Regions from separate parts of the Homo sapiens genome. Here region 1 is linked to region 2. Evidence: promoter capture Hi-C in human tissues and cell types (Jung and others, 2019). All regions are on one chromosome and are shown on one strand. The core of a region is centred on a gene start or on the middle of the fragment in contact, and the rest is flanking DNA. Distances in the headings are between cores, read along the strand shown.

Evidence for each region. The method cuts DNA at HindIII sites, captures the fragments that hold promoters and counts their contacts. A contact is called where the count stands out against the background at its distance.
Region 1: a fragment that was not itself captured here is called in contact with the fragment with the promoter of ZNF287 in region 2 in 5 of the 25 tissues and cell types used here (H1 embryonic stem cells, dorsolateral prefrontal cortex, liver and 2 more).

What each region holds. Positions count from the first base shown.
Region 1 is chr17:16,679,232-16,685,839 of GRCh38, reverse strand. It overlaps a transcript of CCDC144A not described here and the pseudogene RNASEH1P2. Among named protein-coding and RNA genes, the nearest start is that of CCDC144A, 7.7 kb to the left of the region's middle. The HindIII fragment of the contact is 7,976 bases long and covers 1-6,426 here.
Region 2 is chr17:16,567,234-16,573,958 of GRCh38, reverse strand. ZNF287 (zinc finger protein 287) reads left to right here and starts at 4,755. Exons shown (of 6, transcript NM_020653.4): 1 at 4,755-5,007; 2 at 6,030-6,630. The coding sequence starts at 6,228. RefSeq lists enhancers at 4,691-5,190, 5,191-5,692. The HindIII fragment of the contact is 5,740 bases long and covers 1,396-6,725 here.

The DNA.
Region 1 (6,608 bases), core at 1,189-3,688, 110 kb before region 2:
AGACGGCACCATTCCACTCCCGCCTGGGCAATAAGAATGAAACTCCGTCTCAAAATAAATAAGTAAAAATAAAAATAAAAAACAGAACCAATCACAGAAAACACTCCCACTCCCCCCGTAAAATCAGGAACAAGGCAAGGATTCCCTTTTTCATTTGTCCTATTTAAAACTGTACTGGACTGTAATCCCAGCACTTTGGGAGGCCGAGGCAGGTGGATCACCTGAGGTCAGGAGTTCAAGACCGGCCTGGCAAACATGTTGAAACTCCGTCTCTACTAAAAATACAAAAAAATTAGCCAGGCGTGGTAGCAGGTACCTGTAATCCCAGTTACTCAGGAGGCTGAGGCAGGAGAATCACTTGAACCCAGGAGGCGGAGTTTGCAGTGAGCCGAGACCACGCCATTTGCACTCCAGTCTGGGTGACAGAGCAAGACTATCTCAAAAACAAAACCAAAAACAACAACAACAAAAAACGGCGTTGGAAGTTCTAGCTAGTGCAAAAAGGCATGGAAAAGAAATAAATGACATAAAACAAATGTAATCCCAGCACTTTGAGAGGCCAAGGCAGGTGGATTGTTTGAGGTCAAGAGTTCAAGACCAGCCTGGGTAACATGACAAAACCCCATCGCTACCAAAAACACAAAAACCAGCCAGGTGTGGTGGCATATGCCCGCAATCCCAGATACTTGGGAGGCTGAGGCATGAGAATCACTTGAACCCAGAAGGCAGAGGTTGCAATGAGATCACGCCATAGCCTGGGGTGACAGAGTAAGACCTGTCTCAAAAACCAAACCAAACCAAACCAAAAAAATGTATTACTTGTATGATAAGGAAAAGAATCAAATGCATGTACATGGGTGGGTTTGTTTTGTTTTTTTGTGACAGGGTCTCGCTCTGTCGCCCAGGCTAGAGTGCAGTGGTACAATCTTGGCTCACTGCAACCTCGACCTCCCCAGCTCAAGTCATCCTCCCACCTCAGCGTCCTGAGTAACTAGACTACAGGCATGCACCACTACACCTGGCTAATTTTTTATTTTTTCTAGAAACAGAGTCTCACCATGTTAACCAGGCTGGTCTCAAACTTCTCGGCTGAAGTAGTCAGCTCATTTGGGCCTCCTAAATTGCTGGGTTACAGATGTGGACCACTGAGCCCAGTCTCAAATTTTTTTTTTTTTTTTTAGATGGAGTCTTAGAGTCTCATATCGTTGCTCAGGCTGGAGTGCACTGGCGTGATCTCAGCTCACTGCAACTTCAGCCTCCCAGGTCAAGTGATTCTCCTGCCTCAGGCTCCCGAGTAGCTGGGACCACAGGCGCACACCACCACGCCTGGCTAATTTTTGTACTCTTTAATAGAGATGGGGCTTCACCATACTGGCCAGGCTGGTCTTGAACTCCTGACCCCGTGATCCATCCACCTCAGCCTCCCAAAGTGCTGGGACTACAGGCGTGAGCCACCGCGCCCAGCCTCAAATATGTTTTAATATATATTATGATATTAACTTCATGGAAATTGTTATGTCATTAAACCACTTACATAAACCATTAATCTCTAGTAAACTTAGCTTATTTGGTCACAATAGCCATGGGACATGAACATTTAAGATACTCGCCCACTGAATGTCCATCCCCTGGGTCAGCCTCTCCAGTGCCACGAAGTCCTCTTTGTTGATCACCTCTTTCCCTGCACTTGTCTTCCACCCATTTTTCTTCCAACCTTGAACCCAGTTAGTTATACCATTTATCGTAAACATACTGTCTGTATACAGAACCAGTTTATTGATTTTCTGAGTCTGTGCTTGTTCAATGGCCTTGCAGGCTGCATGAATTTCCGCTCTTTGGTTTGTCTGCCACCCAGGAAGTCTAATGCCTACAGTTAAAGGATAGCCCGGCCCCCAGTAAACGCGGATTCCTGCTCGTGGCTTTCTACGCCCATTACTGGAGCAGCAGCCATCAGCGTAGACGACGACGAAGTCTCCCATGTAGGAAAACGTGTCTCTGCTAACTGGAGGCGCCGGCTTCACGCTCGGCTTCACGCTCGGCTTCACGCTCGGCTTCATGTGCTTGCATATGGCTCTGCGCTTTCATCTCCATCTCCATCCAGTGGCTCACGGAGTCGCTTGCTGGCTTTCGTCTCCGATTCTTGTCCATGTTGATTTTCCTGCCCTTCTGAAACTTCCGGGCTTGCAGATTTCCTGACAAAGTCCCAGGCCTCATCCTCTGTGGCAAACTTCTTAAATCTGGCAGCAGGAAACCGGTCCACCTGTGCTTTGCACTCATTCCCGGTCAGAAAGACCGCGGACTTGCCGCCCCTCCTCACGGCATAGAACATCCCGAACCCGCGAGAGCGGCGGCAGGGCAAGGCGGCCAAGGCGACTCTGCCGCCAGGGACAGAAGCCGGCTCATCGCTCACTCCCGGCACCAGGAAGCATTTTGACTCCCAAGAACCACTAATTTTACAAAGAGAGTTGTCCTAAACTGTGACAAGTTTTCCAGTACTTAATTCTTTTTACAATTCATTCGTTTTTTAAATGACAAATAAAATTGTATATATGTTGTGTAAAACCTGTTTAGAAATAGGTAGATGGTGGAATGATTACATTGCGCTCAGGAACATATGCATACTTACTTTTTGTGGTGAGAACCCTTCTTGATTTTCAAGAATACAATACATTAACTGCAGTCACCATGTTGTGCAATGTATCTCTTAAACTTATTCCTCCTGTCTAACTACACTTTTGAATGATTTCACCGTCTCCCCAAACCCCTGCCTTCCACCCCTGGTAACCTCCATTCTACTCTCTGCTTCTGTGAGTAGAAGCAGGAGGCTGGAGAATTGCTTGAACTCAGGAGGCAGAGGTTGCAGTGAGCTGAGATCGAGCCGCTGCACTCCAGCCTGCGTTACAGAGCAAGACTCTGTCTCAAAAAAAAAAAAAAAAAAAAAAAAAAAAAAAAAAAACAGAGAATCCAGAGATCAGACATTCCTTTTAGTAAGGACTCCAATATGGTTTCTCACCTACTCACTACAACAAAATTGCTCTTCTCAAAGCACAAACGATAGTCATATTGTTAAATTATGAATTAAAGCATAATTCCTCAGCCTTTGTCTTAATTTATGTATCAGCAGCATTTGACACAGGTGATCTGTCCTTTTTGCAAAACTTTCTTTGATAGAATTCCAGAACACTTAACCCACTTTCCCCTGACATTTTTTATAATTACCCCTAGTCCTTTTTTGCTGTTTTTTTCTCACCTTTACTATTTTTTAAATGTTAGAGAAGCACTAGGCTCAGGACCTGGACTTATCTTTCTTTTATTTACTTTCTTACTAATTTTTGTGTCATTAATTTCCTGATATTTCATATTATACCTCAACACTAGACTACACCCAGCACCGTCTGACTTCTTCACTTGGGTGTCAGTCAGGAATCTCAAAATGAAGGTCCACATGGAGCCTCCAATACTCCCCAGACTTGCTCTTCCCCTATCTGTTTAATGGCAACTCCCATTTTATAGTTTCTCAGCTCAATATTCTTGATATCCCCTTTTAGTTCTCTCTGTATCTGTCTGGTTCTCATTCTCTCTCTCTCTGTCTCTCCATCTCACACACACACACACACACACACACACACACACACACCCATTTTCAGATCTGTCGTGTATGGAAAACCTGCCAGCTTTGCCTTTAAAGTGCAGTAATTCCAAATGGTGTTTTCAAATTCACCTTCCCACCCTCACCACTTGGTAACTACACTACTTCCCTCACACGGTCAGGGCTCTACTGCAGACATTTCTTGGGGGAAATAATGAGAACTATTATAAATTCTTATTTCAGGCACCCTCAAAATTATAGGCTAGCCATATTCTATATGAATTTAAGCTTTTATCATTGCCCTTTTTTTCATTCCAGTCTCTACACAGCAACCACAGTATGCAATTTTTTAGAATTCCAAGCCGTATCATAACACACTTTTTTTTTTTTTGAGACGGAGTTTGGTTCTTGTTACCCAGGCTGGAGTGTAGTGGCGCAATCTGGGATCACCGCAACCTCCACATCCCAGGTTCAAGCAATTCTCCTGCCTCAGCCTCCCGAGTGGCTGGATTATAGGCGTGCGCCACCACACCCGGCTAATTTTTTGTATTTTTAGTAGAGACGGGGTTTCTCCATGTTGGCCAGACTGGTCTCGAACTCCCAACTTCAGGTGATCCACCTGCTTCAGCCTCCCAAAAGTGCTGGGATTACAGGCGTGAGCCACCATGCCCGGCCAACGCTCCTGTTTTAAAGTACCTGCGCTATTACTTCTTTTCTCCCTCATTAGAATTTAAGCTTAACAAACCTGGGTAACTTTACATACTTTTCCACTGATCTGTCTCCATGAGCTGGAGATCACTTAGTGTAAGGTAAATGATCAATAAATGTTTTCAAATAACAGAATCAATTATTAATAGTTTTCTTTCTTTGAGTATACATTTAGACTTTCAAAAATCAAGAAAATAGATTGGTCAAGAGATTTCCATTTGTTTTGATTTTGTTATCCATTGATTAGATTAGCTGTGTTAGTATAGATTTCAGTGTGGGAAGCTGTAAGCATTTCCTAAATTTTAAAATGAAAGGCATGGGATTTAAATATCCATTCCTTTTATTTAAGGAATAAAAAAAGACAAGCCTAGCTTTTAAAATATATTTTATATATGTAAACTATCTAAATTTATTTTTCTCTTTATCCCTGAATACTTTTTCAAGTTATTCATCTCATTTTTAAAAATCTACCTCGATAACATTTTAAAATATATATGCAACTTCATTAAGAATATCTTTGTTCCACTGAATGGCTTGTCAAATAATACATTAGCAGTACAATTTCCTCATGATTCTTAGACTGGTTTGATTAAATTTATAGATTTCCTACTCTCAACTCATAAATTCATTCAAGTATAATACATCCTACTTGATCTTTGTGGGGTTTTCATACCATATAGTTATTATTAAAATTGATTTTTGATATTTGAATCAACTTCATAATTGTATTGTTGGTTAGATTGGTCGGTAGAATCCTTTTTTGTTTTGGTTCTGTTGTTTGTTCATTACAGAGTGGCTTTGCTACTGTAGAGCTTGAAACATTTTTTTTTTGTTTTATTTCCTTCCTTTTTTCTTCCTTCTTTCTCTCTCTCTCTGTCTCTCCCTCCCCCACTCCCTCCCTCCCTTTCTTCCTTCCTTCCCTCATTCCTTCCTTCCTTTTTCTTTATTTCTCTCTCTCTCTTTCTCTCTTTCTTTCTCTCTCTCTCTTTCTTTCTTTCTTCAGGTTTTGCTCTGTTGCCCAGGCTGGAGTGCAGTGGTGTTAACAAGACTCACTTAAATTTTTTTTAACAGAAATTTATCTATCTTACATCAACCAAATTTCAGTGTAACCAATATTTCTTTTAAGTGAAAAATTAAATCTTTACCATCTGTTAGCCTCAACACTTTACCTTCTGCAGCCTCAATTTTTCTGTCTCCAGCAATCCTCCCATCTCAGCCTCTTAAGTAACTGGGACTACAGGTAGTGCCACCATGCCTGGCCAATTTTTGTAATTTTTTGGAGAGATGGGGTTCACCATGTTGCCCAGGCTGGTCTCGAATGCCTGGACTTAAGTGATCCTCCCACCTCGGCCTCCCAAAGTGCTGGGATTATAGGCATGAGCCACCATGCCCAGCCAAAAGGTTGGAACATTTTCTAAATTGGAAAACAAAGCGCATGGCATTTAAATACTTATTCCTTAAAATTTGGAAGACATGTTAACACCATATAAACCCAGAGCCTGTATTTTTAGATTAGTAATATGTAGATATTTTCAATTTCTTCTAAAGTTTAAAAAAAATAAATATTTTGTATTCAGAGAATTCTTTATAACAGAAGGTAAACATTTTTCACTTAAAAGAAATGTGATTACTTTGAAAAGAAATTTGGTTAATGTAAGTTAGATTAATTTTTGTTTAAAAAATAATTTAAGAAAAATAATGCTCAAAGAGCAGTGGTCATGGCATTTATTCCAGAGAGAGGAAGTTTAGCCTGATCTGCCTGTAACAACAAAAGTACATGGATCAAGATAATTCTATAGGGACATAGATTAAAAGATAACATACTTTTTTATTTTAAAAACCATGATAACTTTTTTTACATGTATTAAATGTGAGAGAACAAACAGCATAAAAAATGAACTTTTGGGGGGATATAAACAAGTACTGAGAACAGTGTGAAGAATAAAATTCTCATCCTGGCTTGGTGTGGGCAGAACCTCACAGCCCGAGAACAAGTCCAGTGTGTGGTGGTGTTAAGGCCCCTCTGTGTAAAAGCTGTCCTCATTTACCGAGAATTGAGGTCTCAGGAAAAAAAAAAAATTACTAACCTCAACACGAAATGATTGGTTCATCATTTGATATACCCTGTGCCTTTATAACATATACAATTGTGTTGTCATTCTATAAGGTTTATCATTTGTTACATTTAAAACCAGAATAATTTCAAATTTGAAGTGAAATAAGTCCCTTAGAGAAACAAATTTCAAAATACACCCCCTACCTATCCATATCTATATCATCTATGTCTGTGTTAGGCCATTTTTATATTGCA
Region 2 (6,725 bases), core at 3,506-6,005:
GATTATCCATCCTTTATTTCACTTGACCGTATAAACTGATTACTTCCCCTGTTGTTTGCCCATATTTCTTGTCTTTAGAGACACTATGTTCTATTAATCTCCTCGAAAGTTCTCTGAAGATAAAGCCCCTCTTCCCCTTTCCCTCTCCCCATCTTCCACTTTAATCTTACTGCTCATTATGTGAATTGAGCTCACCTTATTTCTGGAGCCATCCTCAGGGAGGCCCAGTCTTGTAACAAATCCCCTACTGTCAGCCTCAGCCTGCAGAGGACAGCTACCACAGAGTTTCTCAATGATGCTGGTGCCTCTCTCTAGCACATTCTTTATCGCAGCAGATGATCTTCCAGACTTTCTGATGAAACATAGACAGCTGGTATTTCAGCCTTACATACTCTACCTATTCTAGTATGCCCAGTTCCCTGAACCTTTTAACTTCTTATTTTACCTTTTGTCAAGCAATTCTGACATTTTCTGCTTAACATGAGCCATGTATTTCTCTAAATTTCTCTAATCCCCATCTCCTAGCATCCTTGCCAGAGTGTTTAAGTCCCGTATCACAGGAGTGTGCTTTCTTTCTTTCTTTTTTCTTTTTCTTTTCTTTTTCTTCTTTTTTTTTTTTTTTTTTTTTTTTTTTTTTTGAGACAGAACCTCGCTCTTGTTGCCCCGGCTGGAGTACAACAGTGCAATCTCGGCTCACTGCAACCTGCACCTCCCGGGTTCAAGCGATTCTCCTGCCTCAGCCTCCTGAGTTGCTGAGATTACAGGCACCTGCCACCACGCCTGGCTAATTTTTTGTATTTCTACTAGAGACAGGGTTTCACCATGCTGGCCAGGCTGGTCTCGAACTCCTGACCTCAGGTGAGCCGCCTGCCTCAGCCTCCCAAAGTGCTTGGATTACAGGCATGAGCCACTGTGCCTGGCCAGGAATGTGCTCCTTTTCAATAAACTCTCTGGTACTCTAATATATGTTTTACCTTCTTGATCCAGCATCCTCAGGGTCCAGTCTCATACATACTGTCCTGGTTCCTACAGATACATATAAACTAGGGCCTGTAGTAACTTCAGAGGATGGTTCTTTTCCTCTCTTATCATGCCCAGAATTTCCCCTGTTGGGTTTTTTTGGTGACTTAATTCTAGTTATTGGTCTAGTGGATGGGGTAGGGAGAGGAAAGGGTAGGTAGATCCTGAGGGGGCACGGGTTGTATTGCAATGTAGAGGCCTCAGTCTGCATCATCTTCAAGCAAGGCAGAGCCCTAGCTTTAGACTTGGAGGAGTGGGCCACTTTAGCAAGCCTGAGAAATTCAGAGTGATTGGTGTTTGAAGGTGTTTGCATGCACAAATCAAAATGTCCCCATCCCAAATCTCAGAGTTCTACTCCTTCCCAGCAGGATCCTGACCTTGGCATAGCAAACTTGCTGGGATTTAGAATTCAAACTTAGCTGAAGTTAGGGCCTGATTCTCAGCTGTTTTGCTGTCAGGCTTCAAAGAAGTCTTCTGACGCTCACATTTTCAATTAATTTGTCACTAATCACCGTCATTGTCAATAGCTCCTGGTAATAGCCATTCAATTCCATCATCTCTAGAATTACCACTTCCCCCAGTGTTATAAAGATCTGAGATATAGCACCCACCAGTGCGTTCCCTTCTGTCAACATTCCACCCCAGTTCAACACCACTGACAATTTTAACAATTACTTTGCTACAACCTGACATATGCTATCATTATCACTACTCTGCCAATCACAAGTCATAGGGCCCTCCCTCATTGTCAGCTAGGTGGCAGGTAACACAGTTTCAAAATTCCATTTTATGGCTAATGCCTGTAATCCCAGCACTTTGGGAGGCCAAGGCAGGCAGATCACCTGAGGTCAGGAGTTCAAGACCAGCCTGGACAACATGGCGAAACCCAGTGTCTACTAAAAAATACAAAAATTAGCCGGGTGTGGTGGTGGGTGCCTGTAATCCCAGCTACTCAGGAGGCTGAGGCAGAGAGAATTGCCTGAACCCGGGAGGCAAAGGTTTCAGTAAGCTGAGATTGCACCACTACACTCCAGCCTGTGCGACAGAGCAAGACCCCACCTCAAAAAGAAAAAAATTCCATTTTAGAGTTTGCGTTCTTGGAACAACTGCTGGTACCAACTGGTGTAGGGCAGATTCCCTATAAATAGATTCTGAGATGGAGAATTGCATACAAGGTAATTACTGGGTAGTGTTCTCTAGAAAAAATGCCTGTACAGGAGTGATATAAGGATAACTGGACAGAGTAATAGGTTTAAATGCTGTATGACTGCAACAGAGGCCTCAGTTGGTCTCACAGGGAACTCTTAAGCCAAGATGGCCCTTTATAGAGGCTGCAAGTTGAAGACAGGGGGCCAGGTCTTTGAGGCCTGCACTGAGCAGTCTTTGGATATGGACTTCCCCCGGGGAGAAGACGTGACTTGTGAGAGGCAGCCCCCTGCAGTTAGGACAACTCCCAAGGAAGTATTTTGCTGTGAGCCATCAGCAGCCACTCACCCGGCAGCTGCTGGGATGGATGCCTCAACCCTGAAGGAGGATCCTGGCAGCACCACAGTGTGCACTATAGGGCGTATTAAGTTTCCAGCTTTGGTTGTTGGTTTATGTTTTCCTCCCTACAGGTATGTCAGCTATTGCTTTGTATGTTTTGAGGCCTTAGTGTTAGGGACATGCTGTATATTTATGATAAATATATCTTTTCCATCAAGCACTCTTATTTATTCCCTTTTAATCTTCTCAAATTCTAGCTTATCAGATATTAGAATTATTACTTGTATCAGTCAGGGTTCAATCAAAAAAGCGGAACCAGTAGATATTTAAGATACTTGTGGCAAAGAGTTGGCTTACTCGATTGAGGGGGTGACCAGGTGAGTCCAAAGTCCATAAGAGCACCCCATCAGGAAGGGCAGGCTGGAAGCTGTGGTACGCTGATGGAGTTTCTTCTCCATCAGGGAAACTTCGGTTCTTTTTTGAAAGCTTTTAACTGATTGAATCAGGCCCACCCAAATTATCTAGGATAATCTCCCATGCTACTTAGTCCAACTGGGTTTATGGGCTTCAATCTCATCTACAAAATGCCTTTACAGCAACACCTAGATTCGTGTTTACTTAAATAGCAAGAGACTGTAGCCTAGCCAAGTTGACACATCAAAAGACCATCACACTCCCCAAGTTTGTTTTTTTTTTTTTTTGAGATGGAGTCTTGCTCGTGTCGCCCAGGCTGGAGTACATGGAGTGCAGTGGCAAAATCTCAGCTCATTGCAACCTCCGCTTCCCAGGTTCAAGTGATTCTCCTGCCTCAGCCTCTTGAGTAGCTGGGATTACAGGCGTGCGCCACCACACCAGGCTAATTTTTGTTCTTTTAGTAGAGACGGAGTTTCACCATGTTGGCCAGGCTGGTCTCAAACTCCTGACCTCAGGTGATCTACCTGCCTGGGCCTCCCAAAGTGCTGGAATTACAGGCGTGAGCCACCGCGCCCGGTCCAACTTTCTTTTTGTTAAAATTTTCCTGGTGTGGTGATATTAAGAGTCTTTGACAGTCCTCCTCCACCCTCACAGGATTCTGCCTCCATTTGATTCTCTGTAGGCTTGTGATTGCTTTGACCAAGAGTCTGACAGAATTGGTGTTAGGTGACTTCCAAGGCCATGTTATAATTGGCCATGGCGCTTCTCTCTTGTTCACTGGAATGCTCACTCTTGGAGCCCAGAGCCACCATGTAACAAGTCCAGCTGCCCTCAGTCCTTTATGCTGGAGAGACCACATTGAGGCACTCTGGTCAAACACAAGCCGAGTTCATCTTTTAGCCCATCTCCTCCCAAGCAGTAGACATGTGAGTGGAAAAGCCATCTTGGAAGCGGGCCCTCCCAGCCATCAAATCATCCCAACAGAGGCTACAGACATAATGAGGCAAAGGCCCACCCACTCAGTTCCCCTTTCAAATTCCTCACCATGAAATTTATGAGCATAATACGGTGATTGTCCTTCAAAACCACTAAGTTTTGGGGTGGTTTGTTAATAGAACAGTAGATAACGGGAACACCTTGAATATGTTTTTCTATGCTTTTATTTTTCCAGTGTTTTATGTATTTTTGTTTTGTGTCTCTTAGAAATAACAGCTACTCGGGAGGCTGAACCCAGGAAGTTCAAGTGAGAATCACTTGAACACAGGAGAATCACTTGAACCCAGGAGGCGGAGGTTGCAGTGAGCCGAGCTCGCACCATTGCACTCCAGCCTGGGCGACAGAGCGAGACTCCGTCTCAAAAGAAAAAAAAGAAAGAAAGAAAGAACATGGGTTTTTTTCCCCCAATCTGAGAGTCTCAGAATCAAATTCCTGAGGAGGAAGTGAAAACCTTTCACAGTTAGTATGTATGCACAGTAAAGCCCGAAACCGCACATTAAGTCTTTCTGCCTTTAGACCCACATCTTCCCTGCCCATTCTTCCTCTAGGAAATCTGGCGCCCAGTTTTCTCTGCGTAGTTGGCGCGGGGCTTCAACTCCCGGCGCTCCTCCAGCTACTGGCACCTCCCTGGCCTCCAAGACGTCTACCAGACCTGCGTCTGCCCGGGGAAACTTTGAAGTTCCCTTCGGAACCTCGCAGGCTGACAAGCAAGTCAGAGCGATGGGTGGAGGAGGTTGCCATGGAGACAGGTCCAGGGCCAGAGGCGCGGGAGGGGGAGGCGGCAGCTTGGGCTCCGATTGGCTCTGCGGGCGCGCAGCGTTCCTCTGGCGCACATGCGCAGTGACGCCGAGGCGAGGTCGCGGCTAAGCAGAGGCGCCGGGGTTTCTGGGCCGGGCTTCTCAGGACCGGGCTGGAACGTGCAGCTCCTGGCCGGGACACTCTGTGCTTTGCGGGGAAGGGAAGTGGCGGAGCCCGAGGATCCGCTGCCGCTCGGGACTGAGCCCGCCACGCAGGCGCCTGTGCCAGCGTCGCCATTGTTGCCTGTGGCCTTAGGGCCGCTCCGGCTGCCCGTCGGCCGGGTCCCAGCGACAGGTATTGATGTCCGGGCGCAGCGCGCGAGTGTCCGCGCGATCAGTGACAGCCCGAGCCCGTCCACGCGCGGGCTCCCGTGCTCGTGGCTTGCGGGAGGGCAAAGACGGGGTGGAGGCTGCTGTGGGCCCAGTCCCAGCGTTGCGCGTCGCACGGTCCCCGACTCCCCCGCTGCCCTCGACCTCGACCCTGCGGCTGAAGAGGAGTAAGAGGCAGAGGGACTTGGCCGGGAAGGGGAGGCGACAGGAGGCAAGGCAAGGCTGTCGCATCACCTCCGCAGGGCCTTGTAAACAGTTGTCTTTGGTGGCACGACTGTGCCTCAGCAGGGCTCGGAGCTGGAGCCTGGGGAGAGGTGGTGTCGGTTCTCCTCCAGATCAGGCCGGTTCTAAGGTTTCCTTCGAGAATCCTGGTTTCGAATATATCCCTAAAGAACTGTCTCCTATAGAAGCACTTAAAGGACTTGAAGTCACACCAACCTCTTCACTCTTTTCCAGTCCAACCCGCTGGTCTTCCCAACCCTCTGATAGTGAAAGGCTAGAATCGGCTGGCATTAACATGCAACGCAGATAAATGGCTCGCCCTTTCCCCTGACAGTTCCCTTGGGAACCTTGAGCACTGTATTAAGAAGAAATTCTCCTAGTTTCTTCCAAGTAACAGATTCACTTTGTTATTGTTGAGAGTCCGTTCAGTCATTACAGCTTCTGTAACATCAGTGACTAAAATAATGAAACTATTTTCTCTATAAAAATGTTTAATTTTTGTTACAACAGGTTAGAGGTTTAATCTGTTGTTTGGCTTAGATTCGAGTCATTGCCTCTGACACTACCTTTTTAATAGCAGCTCCATCCCCCACCAACCCCAAGCAGATGGCAGTTCCCTTACAAGTCTAAGGATATAGGGGAGGAAGACAAGGTAAAGCTTATGTGTGTTCATCTATGCACACTGCGAGTCTGTTTCTGTGTGTGTATATGTATAGTAGAGTACACCAGGGATTCTTGACCTTGTGGTCCATGCTTGTGTTTCAGGGTCTCTTATCCATCCCTGCAAGTTCTGGGCTCAGAATTTGTCACTAAGGCTGCTAACTCTACCTTGATTCTGTTCTGCCCTCGGCTGCAGCAGCCTTTGATATAGTGTCCTTGTGACTCTAGCATGAGACTTCAAGCAGTTGGCTCACTACTGGAGAAATAAAGGATATTGCCAGATTGACTCTCCTGTCTGTAGCAATGTTAGCCTCAAGCAAGAGGATGAACAGTTCTTCACGTTCTCAAATCCTTCTAAGGTGGAAGTCAGACAAGGCTCAGAGTGGACCCTACAATGTTGAGAAGGAAATCCTTACTTCAAGATTCTTGCGTGACACTGAGACCTGTCGACAGAATTTTAGGAATTTTCCATACCCAGACCTGGCTGGTCCTCGAAAGGCATTGAGTCAACTCCGAGAGCTCTGCCTTAAGTGGCTGAGACCTGAGATTCACTCAAAGGAACAAATTTTGGAGCTGCTGGTGCTGGAGCAATTCCTGACCATCCTGCCTGGTGAGGTTAGGACTTGGGTAAAGTCCCAGTATCCAGAGAGCAGCGAGGAAGCAGTGACTCTGGTGGAGGATTTGACTCAGATTCTAGAAGAGGAAGGTGAGAATCATAGAGCAGAGAGGGGAGGAATCCCTGGGTGGTTAAAGAAGACAACTAGCACATCTGAGCAGCTCCTTTAAAGAAATCAGGGAGAG